Regions from separate parts of the Homo sapiens genome. Here regions 2, 3 and 4 are each linked to region 1. Evidence: promoter capture Hi-C in 16 types of primary human blood cells and fetal thymus (Javierre and others, 2016). All regions are on one chromosome and are shown on one strand. The core of a region is centred on a gene start or on the middle of the fragment in contact, and the rest is flanking DNA. Distances in the headings are between cores, read along the strand shown. Region 1 holds the start of OR4K13 (olfactory receptor family 4 subfamily K member 13). Region 2 overlaps LOC124903278 (a long non-coding RNA gene). Region 3 holds the start of OR4N5 (olfactory receptor family 4 subfamily N member 5). Region 4 holds the start of LOC124903278 (a long non-coding RNA gene).

Region 1 (6,439 bases), core at 2,320-4,819:
ACCTAGTACTCAATGTTTTATCTTCTGTCTCTGGAATGGCTTTTCTGGATACTAGGTATAATATATCCAATAAAAGGCATAAAGTTCTTTTTGGATTTATGCTGAAGTTGAAAGACAGTAGACATCTTCTCCCATACCCAGTTGCCTTAAATTTGCTTTAGCCTTCAAGTCAGTTACAGGCCTAGTTGCCTAGATTGCAAAGAGAAATATGAACAGAGCTAAGAAGGGGGAGATAAACTTGGAATAGAAGCAGTACAATGTACAAGTTGGGACAGGAATGGTCTATGCTTACTTTTTTTCCTTCCTGTCTCTCTTTTAAATTTCAGCATGACACAGTTTTGAATTCCAAAGAGTGTCCTATATTTTCTATTATATGATCAGACTACATTTGACCTACCTCTCTATCTCATCTCTCAACATCATAGCCCATGACCCAGCTCAATGAAATTATGTATAGGTTCTCCACTGTGTCATGCTTCTATGCATTCTCAACATACTATTTCTTTCTCGTGGAATGTCTTTCTTTTCCATCTAGCTGATGCTAACTATAAGTGGAAACCTTCCTGCCCTGCCCTGATTGAGATGCCATTCCTGCACTCTCAAAGCACCCTGTCCATCATGTAACAGTGCTGTTCGTGCCATGGAACAACTGCCAATTTAGTTTGCTCGATCTATCCATAGGCTGTAAGTTCCTTGAAGGCCTGGCTATATCTTCTGGCATTCTGTAGGCTCACAAAATATGTGAAGAATGGTGAACACACTGTGTTTATGGAAAACAACTTAGTATAATTTAATACACACTAATCAGGGATTACCCAGAACATGCAGTTTTCTAGCCTGTAAGGCACTTGGATAAATAACCGTGATGAGATGTCATCTGTGTGCTTTCTCTAAACATAGATTACCAATAACAACAACAAAAAACCTAACAATAATAATGTGTTTTCTGAGGTTTAAGAGCATGCTAAAATAATAATGAAAGATGCATATAAACAAGGTTGTATAGACGAAAAAACTAAATCACAGGGAACTTATTTATTTTCTTCAAATTTGCACCAGAGAAACTGATAAAGGTGGGATTTAAATGTATACAAGCCAAACTGTAGATATTATGTGTTTGACCATAAAAGATCACAAAAAGGTGTTTGCTTTTTAACAATTACATCTACTATTTCCTCATATGGAACTTGAACTGTTAGCTGGTACACAAGTTATAGTGGTTTTTGCCATTACTTTAATTTTGTCATTTACTTTAATGGCAAAAACCGCAATGACTTTTGCACGAACCTGATACATTAAAAACGAGTTTCTTAAATGTTCAAACAAACAAGAGAGTGTCTCTTCAAAAGTCTCATCTAAAAAGTATGCTTTAAATTTATATGCAGAGTCTTTTTTTAATGGCTGCTTTTACCTCTTGATTTCTTAATGTATAAATAATAGGATTTAAGAGAGGTGTGAAAATTGTGTAAAACACAGAAAGAATTTTATCTACCGAGTATCTGCTGAAGGGCCAGACGTAGATAAAGACACACGGAGCAAAGAACAGAGTCACAACTGTGATGTGAGCTGAGAGAGTGGAGAAAGCCTTAGAGGATCGACTAGCAGCACGGTACCTAACTGAGAATATTATGACTCCATAGGAGACAAGCAAGAGGAGGAAGCAGACCAGTGACAGGAGCCCACTGTCAGCAATGACCAGGAGCTGTAGGATGTAGGTGTCCTTGCAGGCAAGTTTAATCACAAGGGGAAGGTCACAGAAAAAGCTGTCTATAACATTGGGACCACAGAAGGGCAAAGTCAACATGAAAGCCATTTGACTAGATGAGTGCACAAATCCAACTGCATAGGAGGATAACAGTAGCCCAGTGAGCACCCGTGGGCTCATGATGGTCATGTAATGGAGGGGTTTGCATATGGCAACATACCTGTCTATTGCCATGGCTACAAGCAACATCATCTCACTCCCACCCAGGAGGTGCATAAAGAACATCTGGGAATAACATCCCCACCATGAGATGGTCTTACGTTCTCGGAGGAAATCTACAATCATCTTAGGGGTAGCAAAAGAAGCCAGGATCATATCAATGCAGGAGAGGTTGCTAAGCAGAAAATACATTGGTGTGTGAAGGAGCGAATCAAAGGTCACAGTCACCAAGATGAGCAGGTTTCCTAACACAATCCCCACGAAGACCACAGAGAATCCCAAGAAGAATAAAATCTGAAGATTTTGAGATTTGGAAAGTCCCAACAAAATAAATTCCGATACCACTGAATGGTTTGCTCTTTCCATATCGTCAACTTTATCCCATAATGATCAAAATAAGTGAGAATAAGGGGTAGGGAAATGATGCATATTGGAAAGAAATGTTCATGTTGATGTCCACATTTGGTACTCAGTCAAGGCACTTGAACTTACAAGGACCCTTACTTTTGTGGAATTTTGTCAGTCAGTGATTTTACTAATGGCCCAGAGAAGTATCCCAAATAGTCAGTAGAATTCAGAATATAAGTTTCTGGAAGACAAAAATAAAAACATTAATAGTACATGAAACCACAAAACTATAGGTCATGAATTAGAATCAGAAGACCTCTACAGGACACCTGGGTAAGCTGCTCACTGGGTGACACAGGACAAGTAACTCTCCTTTTGAGGGTTTTCTTCTCAGTGAAAAAAAGAATTTGGACTATATGGTATCGAATGCCTCTTTCTGCTATAAAGATCTCTATGAATAAGATAATGATTCTGGTGAGTTTTATAGTCACAGAATAATATTGAGTTTTATTAATGTGGAAAGGATATCAAAAATACATCCAGGATTCTCAAGAACCATGTTTTGAAATGGACTCTGGTAAAGAAATATGAATTAGGTCCTGAGAAACTTACCTTATTTCCTCCATGCTCCATTCTTGCATGAATCCCTCACAGATCAGTATTAGCAGTAGTCACTACACACTTTTGAAGTGTCAAGTATATGTATAGTATATATATATTAAACATGTATATTACATACATTTCATATATTTATATATATTTATATAATTCGTTCATTCAACATTTCATATTATTCACATCAAATACCTCCTCTAGATGGTTAGACAATGTGTACAAACAACCCACAGTCAAATGTAATTGACTAATTTCACTTTCAGCTTGCATTCATTTATTCATTTACCTGGTTATTGCTATGTAGTGGTTAGCTGGTTGGCCTGTGTATGGTTGTCATAGGTTTCAAAATGACTTAGCTTGATGTAACATTTATGTTGGTAAAAGAAATACAGTTCTTTCAGTATAATCTAAATTTATGACAAAATTTGTCATCGGCTCATGCTTATTACAAACTGGTTCTATTGGTTCAGCTTTTAAAAAAATTGCCTCCGTTGCTAATAGTTTTAAATTAATCTAGGTCTTACAAAACACCTTCAGTAAATAAAGTATTTGTAGTCATCTTTTTGTGCTGTTATTACTTACAAGACAGGGGAAAAAAACTTTCGTGATGGCGTCGTACGTGAATCCCAGGAATGGCCTTTTATCTCCTTTTCCTGTATCCCCATCAGTTATCTGCAATTTACTCTTCCAATCATCAGAAACAGAAAAAATAGAGACCATAGTGCTATATGTTTCTATGAGATAATCCCATAGGAACACTTATCCAACTAGGGATGTATTTTTTTCCCTATGTAAACATATCTGTTGGCCAATTTCCCACTCTGAGAAACTTTGATGCAAAATATTAAATTTCATCAAATATGTAATTAGAGCCATTCATTTATATGTCTATAAAGGTAATAGCTCTCTTCAGTTTTATGACTAATATTTAAGAATTCCTACTAATGCTTCTTTTTGAAACCCAATTTTTGAAGCTGCATTTAAACAGAAGAGAACAATTTTCAAATACATACAAAGAAGTTTATAAATCCTCCACATCTGGAATAGTGCATATCAAAAACACTAAGTGAATATCTGTTGAATGAATAAACTATGTAGTGCATATTCAGGATCTAGATTAAGTCAGCTGACTTAATCCACAGAAAAATCCACAACATTAGGAATTTTAACAATATTTATTTTTAAATGTCAAATTGAATGTTGAAGTATTTTAAAATCAGAAATAGAACAGCCATTCTTAAAAAGCTGGTTAAAATATGTTTTTTTCTTTTAATTATCTTTTAAAAAAAAAGGTAGTTTATGCCAATGTGAAAAAAGCACATCACAGATAACAGAAAGACTGACTGAACATTTTAAGAGCTTCTTAGATAACTTTCCAGAAAAATAATACACACTTCAGTACAGTGTGTGTGTGTTAGTGTTACAGGTATTTATATTTATATCATTTTATTAAGACTGCAGATTATATATTATATGTATAGCTATTTTTCTTGAGTTTTTAACTTATTACATTTAAATATGTTTATATTAACATATAGAAACATAACTTTTTAATAGGTGTATAGAATTCCACTTTGTAGATGTTGCATAATGTAATCTCCCCACAAATACAGTTTATTCTTAGAATGAATTTAACATTACCTATAAAAATTATTTTTCATCATATCACTCTCTTCTTTATAAACCTGTGATAACTACCTTATCAATCCCTAACTTCTCCTGGATATTCATAATCAACTCCTCACCCACCCTAAAAATCCAATATTATTTTCTTTTTTTTTCTTTTTTTTTTTTTAATTATTATACTTTAAGATTTAGGGTACATGTGCACAATGTGCAGGTTAGTTACATATGTATACAAGTGCCCTGCTGGTGTGCTGTACCCACTAACTCGTCATCTAGCATTAGGTATCTCTCCCAATGCTATCCCTCCCCCCTTCCCCCACCCCACAACAGTCCCCAGAGTGTGACATTCCCCTTCCTGTGTCCATGTGTTCTCATTGTTCAATTCCCACCTATGAGTGAGAATATGCGGTGTTTGGTTTTTTGTTCTTGCGATAATTTACTGAGAATGATGATTTCCAATTTCATCCATGTCCCTACAAAGGACATGAACTCATCATTTTTTATGGCTGCATAGTATTCCATGGTGTATATGTGCCACATTTTCTTAATCCAGTCTATCATTGTTGGACATTTGGGTTGGTTCCAAGTCTTTGCTATTGTGAATAATGCCGCAATAAACATACGTGTGCATGTGTCTTTCTAGTAGCATGATTTATAGTCCTTTGGGTATAAACCCAGTAATGGGATGGCTGGGTCAAATGGTATTTCTAGTTCTAGATCCCTGAGGAATCGCCACACTGACTTCCACAATGGTTGAACTAGTTTACAGTCCCACCAACAGTGTAAAAGTATTCCTATTTCTCCAGATCCTCTCCAGCACCTGTTGTTTCCTGATTTTTTAATGATTGCCATTCTAACTGGTGTGAGGTGATATCTCATTGTGGTTTTGATTTGCATTTGTCTGATGGCCAGAGATGGTGAGCATTTTTTCATGTGTTTTTTGGCTGCATAAATGTCTTCTTTTGAGAAGTGTCTGTTCGTGTCCTTTGCCCACTTTTTGATGGGGTTTCTTGTTTTTTTCTTGTAAATTTGTTTGAGATCATTGTAGATTCTGGATATTAGCCCTTTGTCAGATGAGTAGGTTGTGAAAATTTTCTCCCATTCTGTGGGTTGCCTGTTCACTCTGATGGTAGTTTCTTTTGCTGTGCAGAAGCTCTTTAGTTTAATTAGATCCCATTTGTCAATTTTGGCTTTTGTTGCCATTGCTTTTGGTGTTTTAGACATGAAGTCCTTACCCATGCCTATGTCCTGAATGGTGATGCCTAGGTTTTCTTCTAGGGTTTTTTATGGTTTTAGGTCTAACGTTTAAGTCTTTAATCCATCTTGAATTAATTTTTGTATAAGGTGTAAGGAAGGGATCCAGTTTCAGCTTTCTCCATATGGCTAGCCAGTTTTCCCAGCACCATTTATTAAATAGGGAATCCTTTCCCCATTGCTTGTTTTTCTCAGGTTTGTCAAAGATCAGATAGTTGTAGATATGCGGCGTTATTTCTGAGGGCTCTGTTCTGCTCCATTGATCTATATCTCTGTTTTGGTACCAGTACCATGCTGTTTTGGTTACTGTAGCCTTGTAGTATAGTTTGAAGTCAGGTAGCATGATGCCTCCAACTTTGTTCTTTTGGCTTAGGATTGACTTGGCGATGCGGGCTCTTTTTTCGTTCCATACGAACTTTAAAGTAGTTTTTTCCAATTCTGTGAAGAAAGTCATTGGTAGCTTGATGGGGATGGCATTGAATTTATACATTACCTTGGGCAGTATGGCCATTTTCATGATATTGATTCTTCCTACCCATGAGCATGGAATGTTCTTCCATTTCTTTATATCCTCTTTTATTTCACTGAGCAGTGGTTTGTAGTTTTCCTTGAAGAGGTCCTTCACGTCCCTTGTAAGGTGGATTCCTAGGTATTTTATTCTCTTTGAAGCAA
Region 2 (6,439 bases), core at 2,031-4,530, 110 kb before region 1:
ATTTTCCAGCATTAATTATAAAGATGTTTTAAGAAGATCATGGAGAACTCTAGCAGGGAGAATGTAAGTGGGCTGAAATCTAATTCTGATAGGCAAAGAAAATGAAAAATTTAGGTTCCACTCTTGGATAATCAACAGAAAATAGGATTTAGATAATTCAGGTAAGCCATAATATGTGTTTTAAGAAATTATTGGATAACTAATTGACAAACTCAGTTGGAACTATAGGCCAGTATAATATACATTCAATAGTATCTGTTTAGCAGGAATTGCCTAATTGTAAATGACTCCTGCAGGAGCACGAAGGTAAATTTCTATTAATATAGGGTGTTTAATGTATTAAGATCATATGTTGCAATACAATTACTTTGATGGTAGAATGTCATGAGTTATTCTGCTTAAACTCTAAAGTTTTCTGTAAAGTAGGTATTTTTATACCTCCCATCTTTTTTAAGGTGTGGAATTAAAGCTCAGATAAAATAATTGGCCAAAAGTTAATCTGTGTGACTTTACATCATGTAATAATAATCAAGCCATGAATATCTCTTCAAAAGTTAAGAATGTTGTATAATTGATGATGTAAGATGACCACAAGACAAGCAAATGTAAACACTTTTTGTCAACCTATGAGGCTTGTGGAGCTGGACTCTAGGTCACTCCTCTAGTCTTGTTGTCATGAGTCAGCTCCTGGGTAAGCTCATTTCCTACTGTATAAAAGACAAGGACTATCCAAAAACTCAAGGGGTTCTAATTATACTGATTAAATTATTAAGCATTATTTAGACATTTACATAAGTTCTTTCCTATTATCCACCTATCCAGACATACTATTATGGCCTCTTCAAAATTTTTGCATTCAGCAAATGCACATTATATCTGAGATCTCAGAATCCCTCACCTTAAAAGTATTCTTAATTCAAATTCTGATTCCTTTCTATTTATCCTCCTTTAGAGTTGTTTCAGAACAAGTTTGCAGCTTGGAACCATGGATAAGTCCAATTCTTCAGTGGTGTCTGAATTTGTACTGTTGGGACTCTGTAGTTCTCAAAAACTCCAGCTTTTCTATTTTTGTTTCTTCTCTGTGTTGTATACAGTCATTGTGCTGGGAAATCTTCTCATTATCCTCACAGTGACTTCTGATACCAGCCTGCACTCCCCTATGTACTTTCTCTTGGGAAACCTTTCCTTTGTTGACATTTGTCAGGCTTCTTTTGCTACCCCTAAAATGATTGCAGATTTTCTGAGTGCACACGAGACCATATCTTTCAGTGGCTGCATAGCCCAAATTTTCTTTATTCACCTTTTTACTGGAGGGGAGATGGTGCTACTTGTTTCGATGGCCTATGACAGGTATGTAGCCATATGCAAACCCTTATACTATGTGGTCATCATGAGCCGAAGGACATGCACTGTCTTGGTAATGATCTCCTGGGCTGTGAGCTTGGTGCACACATTAAGCCAGTTATCATTTACTGTGAACCTGCCTTTTTGTGGACCTAATGTAGTAGACAGCTTTTTTTGTGATCTTCCTCGAGTCACCAAACTTGCCTGCCTGGACTCTTACATCATTGAAATACTAATTGTGGTCAATAGTGGAATTCTTTCCCTAAGCACTTTCTCTCTCTTGGTCAGCTCCTACATCATTATTCTTGTTACAGTTTGGCTCAAGTCTTCAGCTGCAATGGCAAAGGCATTTTCTACGCTGGCTTCCCATATTGCAGTAGTAATATTATTCTTTGGACCTTGCATCTTCATCTATGTGTGGCCCTTTACCATCTCTCCTTTGGATAAATTTCTTGCCATATTTTACACTGTTTTCACCCCCGTCCTAAACCCCATTATTTATACACTAAGGAATAGGGATATGAAGGCTGCCGTAAGGAAAATTGTGAACCATTACCTGAGGCCAAGGAGAATTTCTGAAATGTCACTAGTAGTGAGAACTTCCTTTCATTAAGACAAAACTCCTTCAAATTCCTCAGGTCAATACACTGTTTAATATTTTAATGTATTTTTGTGGTGTATCTCAATTGTGGGGAAAGTAGTGAAGAAGATAATATAGAGAACATTTAATGAATATTAACAAGTCTTTTTCTAGGTATCAAGTGAAAGTTAAATATAAAAACATGGAAAAATCTCTGTTTAGATTACTGGTTCTAGAAATAAAATATGGGCACTAGATGGATAATATGTATGCATTTACTGCTTTTGTTACGGGGTAAATGTAAATATCAAGAAAAAAATCAATGAGAACCTAATTCTCTGGTGGGCATACATTCAAACATTTGTCAGGTTTTAAGAGTTTTCTTAACAACATGCCTAAAACTTCTATGTGGATGAATAGTATTTAAGAATCTGAAACTGAATTTTGCCAACTTCAGGGAATAGCCAAACTACAATTTAATATAACTGCTTAAGTTCAAGTGGAGATTATTAGGTTATGAGACTCCCCCCCCCAAAAATCAATTATGCCTATCCCATACGGTTTTCAAATAGCTAAAATGCTTTAAAATATGGAATGATACATACTCAGAAGCTTCCATTTTAAACCTTTCATTTAAAGGGCTGCCTCTGATTGGCTAGATAATTCCAATTTCCTTTTAGATTATGAGTTGCAGAAAAGAGAGGAGAATCTAGAAAGCTGAACTATTTCAACACCAAGATTTTCGTTTGTGCCACTTCTCTTCTTGTTCCTACAGTGCAGCTGCCAGTGGCTTATGTTCAGGCACCCAGTGGTACTCATCCTCCAGCAAGTTTTATTGCCAGCCTTGGCCTTAAATTCTCTGATCCCCATCTTCACTTCACCTTCTGTGGACTAGATCTGGTCCAGTGCAACCCAGAGAACCTCTCTCCATCTAGGGGGCCTCACTCATATTCTCTCCAAAGAGTTCTGAAACTCAACCTTGGGCAGGGCATCACCCTTCCACATTTATTTCTTCTTTGGTTTCTCTCCTTTAGGCCTATGGTATTTTTTTTTTTCAAAGTAAACTGAAGACGATTCAGATTCAGATTTAATCAGTTTTTACATGTACTCTTTTTTTTTTTACTATTGCTTTATAGTATTATGAAATATCATTGCATAAATAGATTCATGTAGTCACAACAGCCACAATAAGGACATAGACCTCTTCCGTCACTTCAAAGAAACTTTCCTGTGCTGTCTCCCCTGTGATCTTAACCCTGGCAACCAATGATCTGTTCCCCATCACTCTATTTTATTTTTTCATTTCAAGAGTGTTGTAAAATTTATCAGCTGTTCAAATGGCCTTTGTAATAATTTTTAGAAAATTTAATGTGGTTGGATTTGTGAATCATTTTTGGTATCTTTTTTTGTGTGTATGTGTCTGATTTAAGAAATCCTTCTCTCTGTCAAGATCATAAAGACATTATTTAGATTTTCTTCTGTAAATTAAAACATATATTGCTTTTTATACTTAAGAATTTCATCGCTTTGTAACTCATTTTGTACATTTTGGGAGCTAGGCATCTATTTTTATATATTTGTAAATATGTAGAAATCAGACTTGGTGTCATTTATTTAATTGTTCATTATTTCCCTCAATTTGCAATACTACCTCTCTTACATTTTCAGCTTCAGTGTATGTATGGATTTGTTACTAGACTCTATTCTGTTTCGTTAATGCATGTGTTTAGCCCTGCACCCATATTACGCTGTTTTAATTTACTACAGTTTTAAAATAAATCTTGATGTCTGATAGATTAAGTTCTCTCATCTCTTATTTTTCAGTGTCTTTGTTAGTTTATCCCCTTTATGTTCTATAAACATTTTACAACCAGCTCGTCAGATTTCTTAAAATATTATTTCAGGATTTTGTTGTAATTGCATTGGATTCATGTGTTAATTGACATACAAAGATATTTATTATATTCATTGTATATAACATATTTATTAACTTATAGAGAATGACATCTTTTACAAATAAATGTTGAAAAAGAAAAAATATGTCAACAAAAAATTACAATTATTTATGTAAAAAATGTAACTTGCAAAACAACAAATACTCTAAGCTTATGTACAAATTTAAAGATGTGCATTTAGAGAAAATTATAAAATTTAACAAAAGGTAGTAATGAAGAGTGTATTAGTAAATCAAACTTAAATAAGTGAAGATAGACACTATATTAATAAATAGAAAAACAGTATGGTAAAAGATGTCAGTTCTCTCTTAGGGTATTTTTTTAGAGTTACTTTTTATTCTCCTTGTAGTAGCTAATTCCTATTACCAGTTGCTAATTCTTTATATTAAGTATTCTCTGTTCAAATTACTCATGTGGGTTCTGTCTCCTGACTAGACTCTGACAGATACAGATACTTTTAAGTATTTTGAAGGTATCGAAAAATCAGAAGCATCTCATCAAATATGTTAATGAGAGAAATCAGGAGCCAGTTGAATAAAAAAAAGTCAGTAGCTTCATCTATTTATGCACTAAAGTGAAATTCATCTATGACATGCTTGAAAATATAAAAAATGATAGGGCTGGGTGCGGTGGCTCACGCCTGTAATCCTAGCACTTTGGGAGGCCGAAGTGGGCGGATAACCTGAGGTCAGGAATTCAAGACCAGCCTGACCAACATAGAGAAAACCCCTCTCTACTAAAAATACAAAATTAGCCGGGCATGGTGGCACATGCCTATAGTCCCAGCTACTCGGGAGGCTGAGGCAGGAGAATCGCTTGAACTTGGGAGGCGGAGGTTGTGGTGAGCCGAGATCGCGCCATTGCACTCCAGCCTGGGCAACAAGAGCAAAACTCCGTATCAAAAAAAAAAAAAAAAAAAAAAAAAAAGATAGCATTTATAAAGTGAATGCTATCATTTGGTAAACTCAAATTTATTTCTTGACTTTTTAATAATCGCCATCCTGACTGGTGTGAGATGGTATTTCATTGTGGTTTTGATTTGCATTAGATGCTGGTGAAACTGTGGAGAAATAGGAATGCTTTTACACTGTTGGTGAGAGTGTAAATTAGTTCAATCATCGTGGAAGACGGTGTAGCTATTCCTCAAAGATCTAGAGCCAGAAATACCATTTGACCCAGCAAACCCATTACTGGTTATATACCCAAAGGAATATAAATCATTCTATTCTAAAGACACATGCACATGTATGTTTATTGCAGCACTATTTCCACAAATTTTTCAAATTACTCTAGTTCCAATAAAAACAAGGGACATTCCTAATGCTAAGAGCAATGAATTTCTAATTTAATTAATTCTTATTTAAGGGAAACTATTAAAGGCACATAGCATCGTATTTCGGTTAGGATTGTGATATTATGTACTGTAGAATCCCACCTTAAATTTTGTTTAAAATATAAAAAATAGAAAAATAAATAAAAAAATAAAGCAACTATTAATATAACTTGGTAATCAACTTTTTAATACACACATTTCAAAGTAATAGGATAGTATTAAAAATTCTTTTTTTTTCCTCTGGTTTACAGATCCTATAGACTTTCCCTGCACTGCTGACAAATTGACAGAGAAATATCATTAACTGAATAAAATGGCAGAAGAAGTGAACATTTTAGTAAATGTGGAAATAACTCTAGTCAATTGAAAAAGTGTAAAGGAAAGTGTCTTGAGTTGGCTGTCAAAAACTGGGATTTGAACATTGATTATATTACTATTTTTGACATTGAACAGATTACTTAGCTTTTGATCAAGTCACCAATCTCTTCAGTCTTTTAATTTTCAGCTATTTCTCTCAGAATAAAGAAAAGAAAAAAAAAACTACCTTTTTGGTTCACACAGGCTCTGTATTATATGGCTTCTTCTTCACGATAACCCATACAATGAGTTAATTAACATATTTCTCCCTGGCTAAGCCAAACTCTACCTTATTAGGGGATTTGTTTATGGTAGATGAATATATTCCTAAATTGCTTTTGATAATCTGAATATTTTAAAAAGTAAGAAGGGATGCTACCAAACCCAGGGCAGACTTTTATTTGTTTCCTGAGATCTCACAATTTAAGCTACTTCTGCTATGCTTATGAACTAAGTTGATGAGCAGTCCTTCTGACAAGGAACAGTCCTTCAGACAATGCCCAGCACAGAAGCTGTTCGAAAGAGCTGATGTGATGCCTCAGACTTTACAGAGAGACGGTGTCATGGCTCGTGGGGAGAGTACCCCAAAAGGCCAACGGGATAAAGGATGAAGAAGCTTTAGTTCCATTGACTAAATAGAGACAACTGGCAATAGTATGAGTCAAGTTAGTCACAGGACAAGGAGGAAAGTATCAGAGGTACACTTTCCAGGAATGCAGAGTAACAGAGTCCTCCAGGAAAAAACAGAGTAGGTGATTGCAAAGGCACTTCAGGGTGGTCTTTAGAGGAACATAAAGGTGGGGTGTGGGTGGAATGGATCTGTCAGCAGAGCCAAGATCCAGTATTTCACCATAGGTGTTTTACTTTTTA
Region 3 (6,439 bases), core at 2,221-4,720, 100 kb after region 1:
TTCTTTTTGCTTAGAATTGCTTTAGCTATTCAGGATCTTTTTTGTTCCATATCAATTTTAGGATTTTTTTCTAATTTTGTGTAGAATGGCATTGGTAATTTGATAGTAACAGCATTGAATCTGTACATTACTTTGAGCAGTATGACCATTTTAACAATATTGATTCTTCCAAACAATGAGCATGGAATGTTTTCCCAGTTGTTTCTGTAGGCTATGATTTCTTTCAATAGTGTTTTGTAGTTCCTTGTAGGGATATTTCACCTCCTTGGTTAGATATGCTTTTACATGTTGTTGGGTTGTGTGTGTGTGTGTGTGTGTGTGTGTGTGTGTGTGTGTGCAGAGCTATTGTAAATGAGATTGCATTCTTGATTTGTCTCTCAACCTGAATGTTAGTGCTGTATAGAAATGCTGCTGATTCTGGTATATTTATCATTTATCAGTCCTTGGAGCCTTTTAGTGGAGTTAGAGTTTTCTATGTTTAGTGTTATATAATCACCAAACAAAGGTAATTTGATATTTTATTTTTTTATTTGGATGTAATTTATTTCTTTCTCTTGCCTGATGGCTCTGGCTCAGTTTCCCAGCACTATGTTGAATAGGAATGATGAGAATAGACATCCTTGTCTTGTTCCATTTCTCAAGGGGAATGCTTCCAGCTTTTTCCCATTCAGTAAGATGTTGGCAGTGGGTATGACATAAATGGATCTTATTATTTTGAGGTATGTTCCTTCTATAAATGCCTAGTTTCTTGAGTGTTTTTCTCATGAACCAATGATGAACTGTATCAAAAGCTTTTTCTGTGTCATTAAGATGATTATACCATTTTTGTTTTTAATTCTGTTTATATGGTGAATCACAGTTATTGATTTGCCTATGTTGAACCCACCCTGCATCCCAAGAATATGCAAATAAGTATAGATGTTAGAGAACAGCCCATAGCTAGTCCTTTAATTTGTATTGCTGCCTCCAAATTAGCCAGTCAACCTGCCTGTAAAACAAAGATTCCCCCAATTCTCTAAGTTTTATCAATGTGATTTTAAATTTGGGTGGGTTTCTCCTCTACTTTTTTTTAAATTACTGATTACCATCTGTGTTCAATATCAGTAATTTACCATTAAATAAAATAAAATTTTTAATCAAACATCATGTTACACTATCAAGAACTGACTTGTCTGAAACACTGGAATCTATTTGGCACCTATTTGTGCCTTGTTTGCTATCCTGAGCAAAATATGACTGTTTGCTATTAGGTTTTGTAAACATTGATACAATTTATTTTTCAAAATAAACTAGTGATACTATTTCTTAAAGTACAAACTAAAATCTCATTTTACTAAAATTAATAACATGAAACATACAAAGAAGAAAATGAAAACCATCCCAGAGAAAGAGGTTTTCATTACCAGGATTTAGAGAGGTATTACCTATAAGGTTCTCACTGAGTAGCAATCTAGTTGCTGGAATGTCAACTCCACTGGCATGTCAAATCCCTGAGACCAAGGACCTTTAATAATCAGTCCCTAATTGCTTACCTATGTAGTAAGCTTTCCAAATGAAAAACACCCAAAACTTTTTGTAAAGTAAGGAAATACATTTTCAATTTTGTAGATGACAAAACATCATAGGACTGTCACTCATACATTTCTCCAGAAAATAATTAACTAGCATTTTTAAAATGGAAGTGGCACTGGGTCAAAACCTACAAATTTTTCAGGCAAGAAAATATAACTCAGTGGCTTTATGTCTGAGAAAACTGCCACTCAAATTAAAGGATTATAAACAAATATTTTTAATAGAATAGCTCAGCATGTATTTTTTTTCTAAAGAATCTCTTTGAATAAATTGAGAATAAACTAATTGTGGTAGGTGCAAAAAAAGTGGCCTCATTTCTACTTTTTAAAAATGCTTAACCATGCAAATATATTTCCTATGTGAAAATTAAATGTACCTTTAAAAAAGCATAGTTTTTTTCCAATCACCACCTTATCTTGTTTGGGTCTTCATAATGTTAATAAATTACACTTCCATACATAGCTATTTCATCTAAAATCTTAGGAGTTTTTAAGACATCGTGTCTATCAGCAAGTCTAAATGTCTCCACCATCAAAATACATGTCAAGTTCTCTGAATTCTTCTTACTACGGTCTCCTCCTCCCACTCTCCACCAGGCAAAGTTACCAACATCATCTTTTGTACTTGGTACTGCAACATCTTCAAACTGTTCTCCTTGCTCCTATACTTGCCTCCCTCAAACCCATTCTCCACACAATAGCCAGAACGACCTGAAGATTACAATTGTTGACATTATAATTACACACTGAGAATAACCTCCAAATGCCATGAGCTGGATAACATCTGCCTACCTCTCTAATGTTGCCTTATACTTTTCCTTCTTATGCTCACCATTTCCTCATCATGATGGTCTCCTTTCTGTGCCTTACTGTACCAGCTCAATCCTCTTCCACAGTCTCCATTCTCGTTCTTCACATTGCCTGAAATGCCCTACCCTAGTCATTCAAACCTCAGCTTAACTTTCAGCTCCTCAGGGATAACTTTTCTAACTACTCAATCTAAAATAACAGCACCACCCCCCGCCCTCATTCACCCTCCAACACATCCCTCTGTTATATTCTTTCATTCTCCCACATTTTACTGTCTTTTTTGTTGTTGTTGTTGTTCTTTGTCTGGCTCCCTCCACTGGAATGTCAAATCCCTGAGACCGAGGACCTTGTATATAATAACCAGTGCCTAATCACTTACCTATGTAATAAGTTTTCCAAATGATAAACACCTAAAACCTTTTGTAAAGTAAGGAAATATATTTTCAGTTTTTTAGATGACAAAACATCGGAGGAAGTTTTTGACATTTTCTCAAAAAACAGAACCATCATGGTTGGAACCAGGACTGCAAACTTGTCTTTTGAGCTCCAGTCTTGTGCTAGTTTCACCACATTTGGATGCCTTGTTTAGAAAGCTAGTTCAGGCCACTCTGAGATACATCTTTTAAAACACACAGACATTCACACAAACATACATCTTTCTTTTTAATAGTATAAAATTGCCTAAGATGAAAAAGCATTCTCAGCAGAGGGGAAAGGTCTATTTTGCACTAGTTAATATCTCAGTTAAAATATCTTCTTCTAACTAATTCTAAAGCATTGTTGTCAATATTGAGAAGTGACATCCCTGGGAAGTCCCTTAATTGCATAAAACAAAACTAAAGTGAAAAATAAAAAACAAAAACAAAACAAAATAATTTGCATTCTCAGAAATATCTTTACCACTCTATCTTTCTCTCTCCATCCATTCCCTTCTCTTATCCTGTCTTTTTTTTTTTCTAAACCTGTGTTTACGGCTTTGTGGTACAAGCATCTCTGTGGGCATTGTTTCTCTTTCTATCCATCTTTTCTCCTATTTTTTTGTGTATGCTTTTTCTCTTTTTTGCCTCTGTTCTCTCTCTTGCAATTATCTTGTATTTCTAACTTTGTATCTTTCTGGGACTGTATTATACTGCTATGCTTTCACCCAAGGAAAATGGTATATGTTAGAAGTTGCAGCACTGATCATAATAGGAAAGAAACCTGCTAAAATGTTATCTACCTCTCTTCATCTCTGTCCACTTTTAAACATCTCTGACTGCATCTCTGGCTGAGCTGGGCATAAACATGAATGAAAGCATACTTGACTGTGTATTGAATTTGCTTTATTAAATTTAAGTTTGGTATTTTAATTTTAATGTGACTCTGAGGAATGGCATCTTTCTTTATAATGTGTTACAAAAAAAACTTACATTGATTTTTTTCTTGTATGATTAGATATTTTTATGTTATATTATTTCATTAAAAACCAGAAAGCTCATTATCCTATAGCAGGGCTTAGGAACCATATATTCAAAAAAACCAATAATACAATAGAGTATTTCTTCTTTTACTTGAGGGGCACTCCCCTGGAGGAACTGGTCTACAAGATGCATAAAGTTCTTTTTATTTAAAGACAAACTTTGAAATGATAATAATTTAGATATACTGAGTTAAATGAAGCATTATTAACATTGAATTAATCATTAATCATTTTGCCTAATAAGTGTATGGGACATTCCATTATCACTGCCACTGATAAAATACCAAATTCAAAACCCTAACATGATTCAATGGGGTATTCACTGGCATGTGTTTTGAATATTTAATCTTTAAAATGTTCTTGTCTCTTTCTTTGTCTAATTCTAATTGGCAGTCTAATAATTCCCATTGGTAGAACTCTGCAGAATTCAGGTAGCGGTAAAACCCCAAAGTACATTCTCTATTGCATTAATTGTATTACAAATGAATAGAGATTTCAGAATTTATAATATTCCAACATGAGAATATATATTTAAGCACAAATTCTGAAATAATTAGCTAATCTCCCTTTTATCAGACAGAAAAGAATAGCCACTTGTTTGAGAGTAGCATTTGGCTCCCGGCAAGGTAAAATTTTTTATCATTCTTTATATTTAAATTAAATAGAGAAAAAGAAAAAAAAAGAAAAATTATACTATTTGTCTTGGTTATCTGCTGCCTTGAAATTTATGAGAACAGAATTCTGCTGCAGAAACAGAGTAAGGGTGAGTTGTAAATTCAGGTGTTCAGCACTTTTCTCAAATATACCTGTTTCTCAAATAAACCTCCTATTATCTAATACTTAGTACTATTTTAAAGGTGCTAAAATTTTTAATTCTACTATTGTTTTAAAAATAAAAATACCAATTGATTATGAAGATTCACCACCTGGATTTCAATTTGTATATAATACAAATGACTGATTTCATCTTTATCCTAAACCAAAGGTAAAGGGAGGAAGAGTGAAGGAATCACAATCAGTCAAAAAGGGCAGGCTGAGTCTCAGAGACAAACTTCATTGACTTCACAAGTTTGGAAACCTCTGGTTCCACACTCAGTTACATGTGTTTCCCCATCTGCACATGGTCCTTACATCCAGCAATATAAGGCTCAGAGTTAGCAATCCTAAAACAAGAAAGACATGATTCTCAAACATGTCTGAATTAGATAAGAAAACCTTTACTGAGACCCTTCCTAGAACCTCCACAGTTTCTTACTCTGAAATCCACTTAGATTCAAGCTGTTATCATATCCCTTGGAATTAATCCCAGGGCAGTGACAAAAGATCTATTGACATGGTATCCATTTTTTGCTAGAACGTATTTATCACTGAATGCTTCCTCTCTTCATTTACACAGATGTGGATTAGCTCCTAACCACCTAATTTGATCATCATATTCCCTCTACCCTGTGAAGTAAAAACAGCGAATATATTATTTCTCTTTAATAGATTCAAAATACAGATATTAAAAATTAAATGACTTGCCTAAGGTCATTAATTGTATTAAATAACTTGCCTAAGCTTCCTAAAATTGCAGATATGGTAACTCAGCAAGGTAAAATAATTCTCAAACCAGAGACCTATTTTAGAACACCAAAATAACTTGCCTCATTTTTATCAAGATGAGTTAAAAACAGACAAAACATGTGACAAAACCTGAAGTAATTAATGAGTGATTCAGACTCAGTAAATTTCAAAGAAGATAATATTCAGGAAGTAAGGCTTAGCACTGGGGAGCAAGGAAAGCACTTTAGGTCTGTAGAAAAAGTCATTGGAATGAAATACATAGGAAGCAACTAACTACTGTGCTCACTCTACCTTGGAACAGGTTAAGCAATTTATTATTTCAGAATCAGTAAAGGGTAGGCATTGAATATATTTAAGGAGAATATGTGTAAAGAACAAGGTGAAACTTACTTAAGACTGAAAGAATGTAGGCAAATGAGAGAAAGAAGAAAGAGAATGACAAGGAAGAGAGCAAAGAGGGAGGAAAAGCAAGGGATTAGGAAGATAAATTGCAAGAAAAAATTAAAAAGCAAGTAACAGGAAACAGAAGCTAAAAGAGAATGTAAAGAAATATTGTTGTAAATGAGTGTATGAAGACAGAATTAGCAGGAAGAGAATGGGGAAGGATGGGAAATAAGAAAGAAGCAAGATAAAGTGAATGAGGAAGGATAAGGGAGTGAGCTGCTAGGATGTTGATCAGGTCCCCAGACACTTGGCTTCAGGAGCTGGTCTGAAAACAGTCTGGAATTGAGATATGCACAGTGTTGCCTGCAGATGCTTACTGCTCTGCAGTCTGGAAGCTGTTGTGCGGGACAGTATGGGGACCCTCTCCACTTATGCATCTTCAGTGCCAAAGGAGTATGTATGTATGTACATATATGTATGTGTGTATATCTTTCTATCTATATCTATCTATCTATCTATACGTATATATATATCTGTTGAAATAATAAGGAAGGTTAGAGATGGTGACCATCATTTAGGTTTCTGTCTTGGCCTACACTGACAATGCCTCTTTGTCTTATCTGACTAGAACAAGAAGTTTGCCCCTGTG
Region 4 (6,439 bases), core at 2,839-5,338, 85 kb before region 1:
CCAGCAGGAAGCTTTATTACTCTTGGCCTGAAGAGACAAGAAGAGGGTTAGAAATTGTTGAGAGCTAGAGCCATAAAGGGACCTACAAGGTATAAATACTCAGGGATAGATTACTAGAAGAATTCTAGCGAAGTGGCAGGGAGGAGAAACAGAAGTAAAATCCAGACCTTTCTCTCCTTTTTCCCTCTAATCTCCTGCCAGCTCCTTTTATTCTCCAATCTCAATAAAGGCTAGAGGCAGAAAAGCCCAGATAATGTAGCCATGCTAGTGAGCCAACAGGGGCCTAGAATAGAAAAGGGTGGAGAATGAAACAAACAACTAAAGAAAACTTCAAGAGAAATCAATAGGAAATGATGACCTGGGGACAACTGACATGATGTAATAGCTGATTTCAAGAATTTAGGGTACAAATGGGAAGAGATGAGTTTATAGTTGGGAGATGATGTGTTAAGAAAGTTAGATACGGCCGGGCGCGGTGGCTCACGCCTGTAATCCCAGCACTTTGAGAGGCCGAGGCGGGCGGATCACGAGGTCAGGAGATCGAGACCATCCCGGCTAAAACGGTGAAACCCCGTCTCTACTAAAAATACAAAAAATTAGCCGGGCGTAGTGGCGGGCGCCTGTAGTCCTAGCTACTTGGGAGGCTGAGCCAGGAGAATGGCGTGAACCCAGGAGGCGGAGCTTGCAGTGAGCCGAGATCCCGCCACTGCACTCCAGCCTGGGCGACAGAGCGAGACTCCGTCTCAAAAAAAAAAAAAAAAAAAAAAAGAAAGTTAGATACTTAAGAGAGAAAGTTGAAGGAATTCATACTAATGGTAATGGATTTGGTTTACAAAGTAGGAAATGAGTTTATAGAGTACATATATACATATGCTAAGAGCCCATGTAAAGAAGAAAATCCAAATATCTTGTTCTAGGGTGTGAGAATGATGATCAAGGCTGTCTTCTGTGCTTTCTTTCCCTTATCATTACATAGGACCATAATGGTTAAATCTCTTCACTGTCCAACTGTACAAGAAGGGACCTAATTCTGAGCGGTCTATTTCAGTTCATTTATATGCAAATTATCCGGCATTAAAATTCAATTTAAAAAATTAGCTCAGCTCCTATTGTGCCACCAGGATGATTTAAATTCTGTCTTTTCTTAAAAGAAAAGGAGCAGAATATCTCTAAATCTTTGTGTTTCAAATATTTGGTTTCGGTTTTGGGTCTGGTTCTCAACACTGACCACTAGTGTTAACATACAGTTTATTACAGGAAACTTGTGTGAAATGTTCTATAACAATTGTCATAACAACACATAATGAAAAGAAAAAAATGCAACATCAACTAGGATGGGATGCCAATGTCAACAGTTCATTTTTACTCCTGGTATTACAACCCATATTTTCATTGTTTAAAAAAAAAATTCATGTTCCACATGAACCTAGCAGTACACTAGCAATATGACAACAATGTAGCCACTTATCTCAGCAAAACAAAAATTTTACTACTTTTCATGTGCCGTGCAGACTCATTTTTTTCAGAAACTGCTTATCATTTGTTTATTTATAATATTCAAGATACCCATTGGTGATAAGGAATGAAATGATAGCCAATTGTATTCATTAGATTTTGCTCCATATTAAGCCACCTCAAAATTTATTGAATTAAACTAGGAACCATTTTATATTTGTTCACAAACCAGGCGAGTACCTTTTCTGGTCTGGGCCAATACGTTTGACCTCTACTAGGATGTCTGGTAAGTCTGGGTGAGCTGGACAATCTATACTGACCACACTCATATGTCTGGTAGTTGCCAGGTTAGCAACATGAGCTGGTTTACTGTCAGCCAGGCCCCAAATTCTCTCCACATGGTTTCTCATCTGTCATCAGCTGGAGCTGACTTATACCTGAATGAGAGCTTGTTTTATATTATCAGGGGTTTTGTGAGGTAGTTATTATACACTTGGTGGCTTGAAATCTGCCATAGTGGGAGTATTTTTACCACAGACATTGGAAAATACTACAAATCAGAGCCTTCTCTTCCCCCTTTACCCCATGAACCAGCTCCTAAACATTTACCAGGACATCATTGCTTCTTGTCTTCCAAAAGACTGGCTTAGGCTCGATTCCATGGTGGCCTCAGTATTCCCATAGTAACAATAGAGGGCAGTCCCAATGCAAAATTCTCTTGTGCTATTATTCCTTTCGGCAGAACAAGACACATGGCCAAGTCCAGAGTCAGTGCAGAATACCACTCATCAATTTAAAAGAACCAACTATTGATTCACAGAGTAACTGGGGTGAATCTCAAAGGCATTATGTTGAGTAAAAGAAGCCAGTGTCAGTAAAAACATATGTATGACCCCATTATAACATTCTCATTTTTTAAAAAAAGAGTTTTATGGTATTTTTGAAAAGTAAAAAGTAACCACCACATGGCCACTTGTACACTCATTTATTCAGTGAATCAATAATATTCTGTGGGTATCTACTATTTGCTAGGTTCTGGGCCAGGTGTTGGGGAGATGATAGTGATCCTAAGACACTCAGTTTTTACCCACATGAGTCCCACAGTCTTGGAGTGGAGATGCAGAAAGGAGAGAGAAACAAAGACATGTAAGAAAATCAAATGAGCAAATTAAAAGTTTAATGAGTGTTATGAAGGTAGTAAATAATGTTGCGAGATGAGAAAAAACAAAGGAGTGAAGAGGGGGGAATGGTACTCAGAAAAAGCCTCTCTGTGCTCTGTGTAATGAATAACCTTCTATTTAGTTTCTGTGGGAAGGATATACAATAGAAGAGCCAAAAGAAACAATATTCAAGCAGACAAAAGAGAAATGGAAACTCCCTAAAGTGGAAAGGGATTGTGTGTTCCAGAAAATGAAAGCAGGAATTTAGTGAATGACCAATGAGTGAGACGAAATGAAGCTGAAGGTTAATATGTAAAATACAGGATAGGAAGGGCTCATTATGGATATTGGATTATATTTCTAGAGCAATGGGGACTATGATGGTCCCTTGGTGTCTACGGGGAATTGGTTCCAAGACCCCCGCAGATACCAAAACCCATGGATGCTTCAGTCCCTTGTATAAAGTGGTGTAGCATTTGCATATAACCTATGCACATTCTCCCGTATACTTTTAAATCATCTCTAAATTACTTATAATATCTAATACGATGTCTACATATCACTTCTTTTAAGTGAATTCAATGTAGTACTTGATGTGTTGCAAATTTCAGTTTTGATTTTGAAGATCTGTGGAATTGTTTTTTTCTAAATACTTTTGATCCGTGATTGATTGAATCCATAGACACAGAACCCACATATACAGAGGAATGACTGCATGTTTATCATTTTAAAGTTGTTTGACTTATTTATCTTATTTTTAAAGATTTATCTTATTTTTAAAGACTGCTCTGAGCATTCAGGAGAAATTGACTGGAAAAAAAAATCAGTGCAGAGAGTTGGAGATTATTAGAAGGCCTTTGAAACATTTAAGGAGAAAGAAAGGGATGGTTTAGACAAGGGAAATTGTAATAGAAAGCTTTGATGGATTGGGCATATTTTAGAGAAAGGTACAGCAGGACTGGAAGTGGGAGTGAGAAAATAGAAGAAGTGAAGTTTCTGGCTGAAACCACTGGGGCAATAGAAATGCCATTACCTGGGTTAAGGGAGACTAAAGGAGGACTAGATTTGGAAACAGAAGAATTGAAATGACTGTGAAAATTAAAGAGAAGATGTGAAGAAGAAACGTGATCTATCAGTCTGGGCTGATGACTGGGCTCCTCTCCTCAATTAAGCTCATCAAACTTCCTGGGCACTCACTCTGTGTCACAACATTTACTTTTGTCTTTGTCCCCTGCTCTTCTCTGTAGATTTCCTAAGTCCTTCTACAGCTCTAATGGGATATGTTTCCACAATATCCAAAAGCAAGCTATTTTTATATCTGGGCAGTTTTACCCACTTATGTCTAAGATTCTTTTCTGATTCTGTTATATGGTCAAGTACTGTGTAGTGATAATTAAAATATTGGATAATTTTGGCAAAATATTGTGTGGTATGGAATTTGAAAACCTTTGACATAAAAATTTTCAAGAAAAGGAAGAAATATAAGATTAGAGAAAGCAAAATTCTAATTTTCTTAGACCCATTGCCAGATTTATATTTCTTTGGATCTAATTTTCTTTAGGCCCTGTGCATGTGTGCTAGTGCTTACTGGCACAGTCACTTTAGATAAGGACAAAGAAAGCACATGGATAGAGGCAGAACATTAAATGAGGGCAAATATAGTTGTTGCAAACTTTGAGGTCACTACATTTCTCTCTCATGACATATGTTCTCATTTGCAATTATAGGCAAACAATTTAAAAGTTCTTACCATCTTGATATGGGGGAGAAGCAACCAAAATATTGTTAATAACTCCCATAGCAAGATGAATTCACTTAACAAAGTTCATTTTTTAATTGGCTTTCGCAATTCATGGGATTGGTTATCTGAGACTTTTGGGAGTGTCATGATATTTAAATAGTTCCTTTATAGGCTCCTGTGATTCTCTTTTTAAAATTATTTTTTAAAAAGTTTTGGAAGCATCTTCTCTTCACCCTGTTGTTACTTTCCTGAGATTTATCTCAAAATTGGTATGTGGAATTTAATCGCATCAAGCTTAAAAGCAACTGTACATGTTGCCATTCAGAGAGATAAAGGGATTCTGGGCTAAAGTTATTACCACAGTCAAGGCAACCTGTGTTTTTGAGCATGAGGACTTGGGGTTTGGGCGTGAGAGCCTAATATAAAACAAAACAGCGAATTATTGCTGTTTTGACTGATTATTGTCACTGCTAACACAAGCATGGGATTGAAGTAGCAAGATAAAAGTGAGCATGTTGATGTATAGTTCAGAAAGAGCAGAGAATATAATTGGGCACTACTTTGTTATCTTAGAGGTGGGAGGATCACTTGAGGCCAGGAGGTCCAGGCTGCCGTGAGCCATGATCACATAGTTGCACTACAGCCTGAGTGACAGCGCAAGACCCTGTCTCTTAAAATAATAATAATACTGATAAATTATTTTAGTGACCAGGTAGACATCCTTAGATAGATGTTTTCAGTAATCAGATCCTTAATTGAGCAATATGTAGCAGTTAAACATATGTTCTTTGCACATTCAAATCTTCAGACTACCAGTGTGCCTTGTGACACTAACTTTAGCACTAAATTGTAGCTGCTTCTAACACAAAGTTAGGATTATAGTAATATTTACTTTATAGCATTGTAAGGATAATAAGGTAATTATTGGTCACATATCACTGTAAGATAACTAAATCAATCTCGTCATACCCAAAAGCCTTTATTCAACTTAATTATCTACATAGTAAGAAGCCGGTTTCTTCCCATAAATGATTATCTTCATTACCAAACTATCTTCTTTCTCTTCTACAACTTTGATTGATTCTTTTCATGTCTGACATCTGTACCACTAAGACCTTTACATGTACCTATTTGTTAATCTGGGCTGTGCAATCTAGAGTTTGAGCCACAGAAGATTCTACAATTTGACCTCTTGCCTTATAACCTTTGCTTCTTCCTTCCTGTTTGACCAGAATGCTTTTAGTTAAAGCTCCTTGCTCAAATTAATTTCTGAGTCCAGAAAGTACTTCATACAAATTTCACATTTCTCCTTTAAATGGAAGTTTTATTTCACATTCGGTTTATCATTACCTTAGGCAGAGACCTGCAATTAATTTCCAAATCAGGTACTAAGGATGGGGTGTTAATCCCATTAGAGAAGTTTATTTCCAGTATAACCTGATGTCCAAGACAAGGCATTATTTAACTCTGTATTTGAAATCTGAAGTAGAGTTAATAATGAAACATCAAAGAATGTCTTCCCCTATTTCACAATGATATCCATTTGTAACCTAATTCTAGCTCTAGTTTACTGCATTTACTTTTTTTAAATAAGTTAGAGGTGAAGAATGCTAAAGGTTGGAAGTAGCTAACTGGTGAATGGAGAATTGTAAAGAACGCTATGTGGTTTTTCTTCAGTGTCTACTTTCCTTTTTGTCAGATTTGTATTCCAATGTTTTAATAAATGATAGGTTTATTCTAGAAAATAATGACTTTATTCTAATATTTCATTTTAATCTTATTTGGTCTTTTAAAGTCTCTTAGTTTGTTAATCTTCTCAGAAGCAAATATTTTTCTATTCAGATTGGCTTTACTTGTAAGAAAGTAAAACTATATTATGTAATTTTCAATTAGAATATACTTTATAGTTTACACAGCTCTTTGAAATGTGCACTATCACAAATAAGGACTCAAAAGTTTAGAGAATTCCAGTAAATTGCACAAGGACATTAATCCTATCTGTTTTGGGCATCATTATCTCTCTGGGCCTGCAGAGTTTTTGGCCCATAATCACCAAAGGTACTCAAGAAGTTGGAATGAATGA

Evidence for each region. The method cuts DNA at HindIII sites, captures the fragments that hold promoters and counts their contacts. A CHiCAGO score of 5 or more calls a contact.
Region 2: a contact is called between a fragment that was not itself captured here and the fragment with the promoter of OR4K13 in region 1, in 5 of 17 cell types (non-activated CD4 T cells, neutrophils, naive CD4 T cells and 2 more). The highest score is 6.7, in non-activated CD4 T cells.
Region 3: a contact is called between a fragment that was not itself captured here and the fragment with the promoter of OR4K13 in region 1, in 3 of 17 cell types (M2 macrophages, neutrophils and M0 macrophages). The highest score is 7.0, in M2 macrophages.
Region 4: a fragment that was not itself captured here is called in contact with the fragment with the promoter of OR4K13 in region 1 in 5 of 17 cell types (fetal thymus, neutrophils, naive CD8 T cells and 2 more); the score reaches 6.6 in fetal thymus.

Annotation. Positions count from the first base shown.
Region 1 is chr14:20,032,469-20,038,907 of GRCh38, forward strand. It overlaps OR4K13 (olfactory receptor family 4 subfamily K member 13), which reads right to left and starts at 3,570. Exons shown (of 2, transcript NM_001004714.2): 1 at 3,470-3,570; 2 at 1-2,513. The coding sequence starts at 2,290. The coding sequence ends at 1,376. The HindIII fragment of the contact is 9,053 bases long and covers 1-6,439 here.
Region 2 is chr14:19,919,622-19,926,060 of GRCh38, forward strand. The region is part of intron 2 of LOC124903278 (a long non-coding RNA gene); the gene reads right to left. OR4K5 (olfactory receptor family 4 subfamily K member 5) reads left to right here and starts at 986. Exons shown (of 1, transcript NM_001005483.1): 1 at 986-1,957. The coding sequence starts at 986. The coding sequence ends at 1,957. It also overlaps a transcript of OR4K1 not described here. The HindIII fragment of the contact is 1,493 bases long and covers 2,535-4,027 here.
Region 3 is chr14:20,134,425-20,140,863 of GRCh38, forward strand. It overlaps OR4N5 (olfactory receptor family 4 subfamily N member 5), which reads left to right and starts at 4,396. Exons shown (of 3, transcript NM_001004724.2): 1 at 4,396-4,466; 2 at 6,419-6,439. The HindIII fragment of the contact is 3,856 bases long and covers 1,543-5,398 here.
Region 4 is chr14:19,946,623-19,953,061 of GRCh38, forward strand. LOC124903278 (a long non-coding RNA gene) reads right to left here and starts at 2,112. Exons shown (of 4, transcript XR_007064055.1): 1 at 2,065-2,112. The HindIII fragment of the contact is 1,119 bases long and covers 3,530-4,648 here.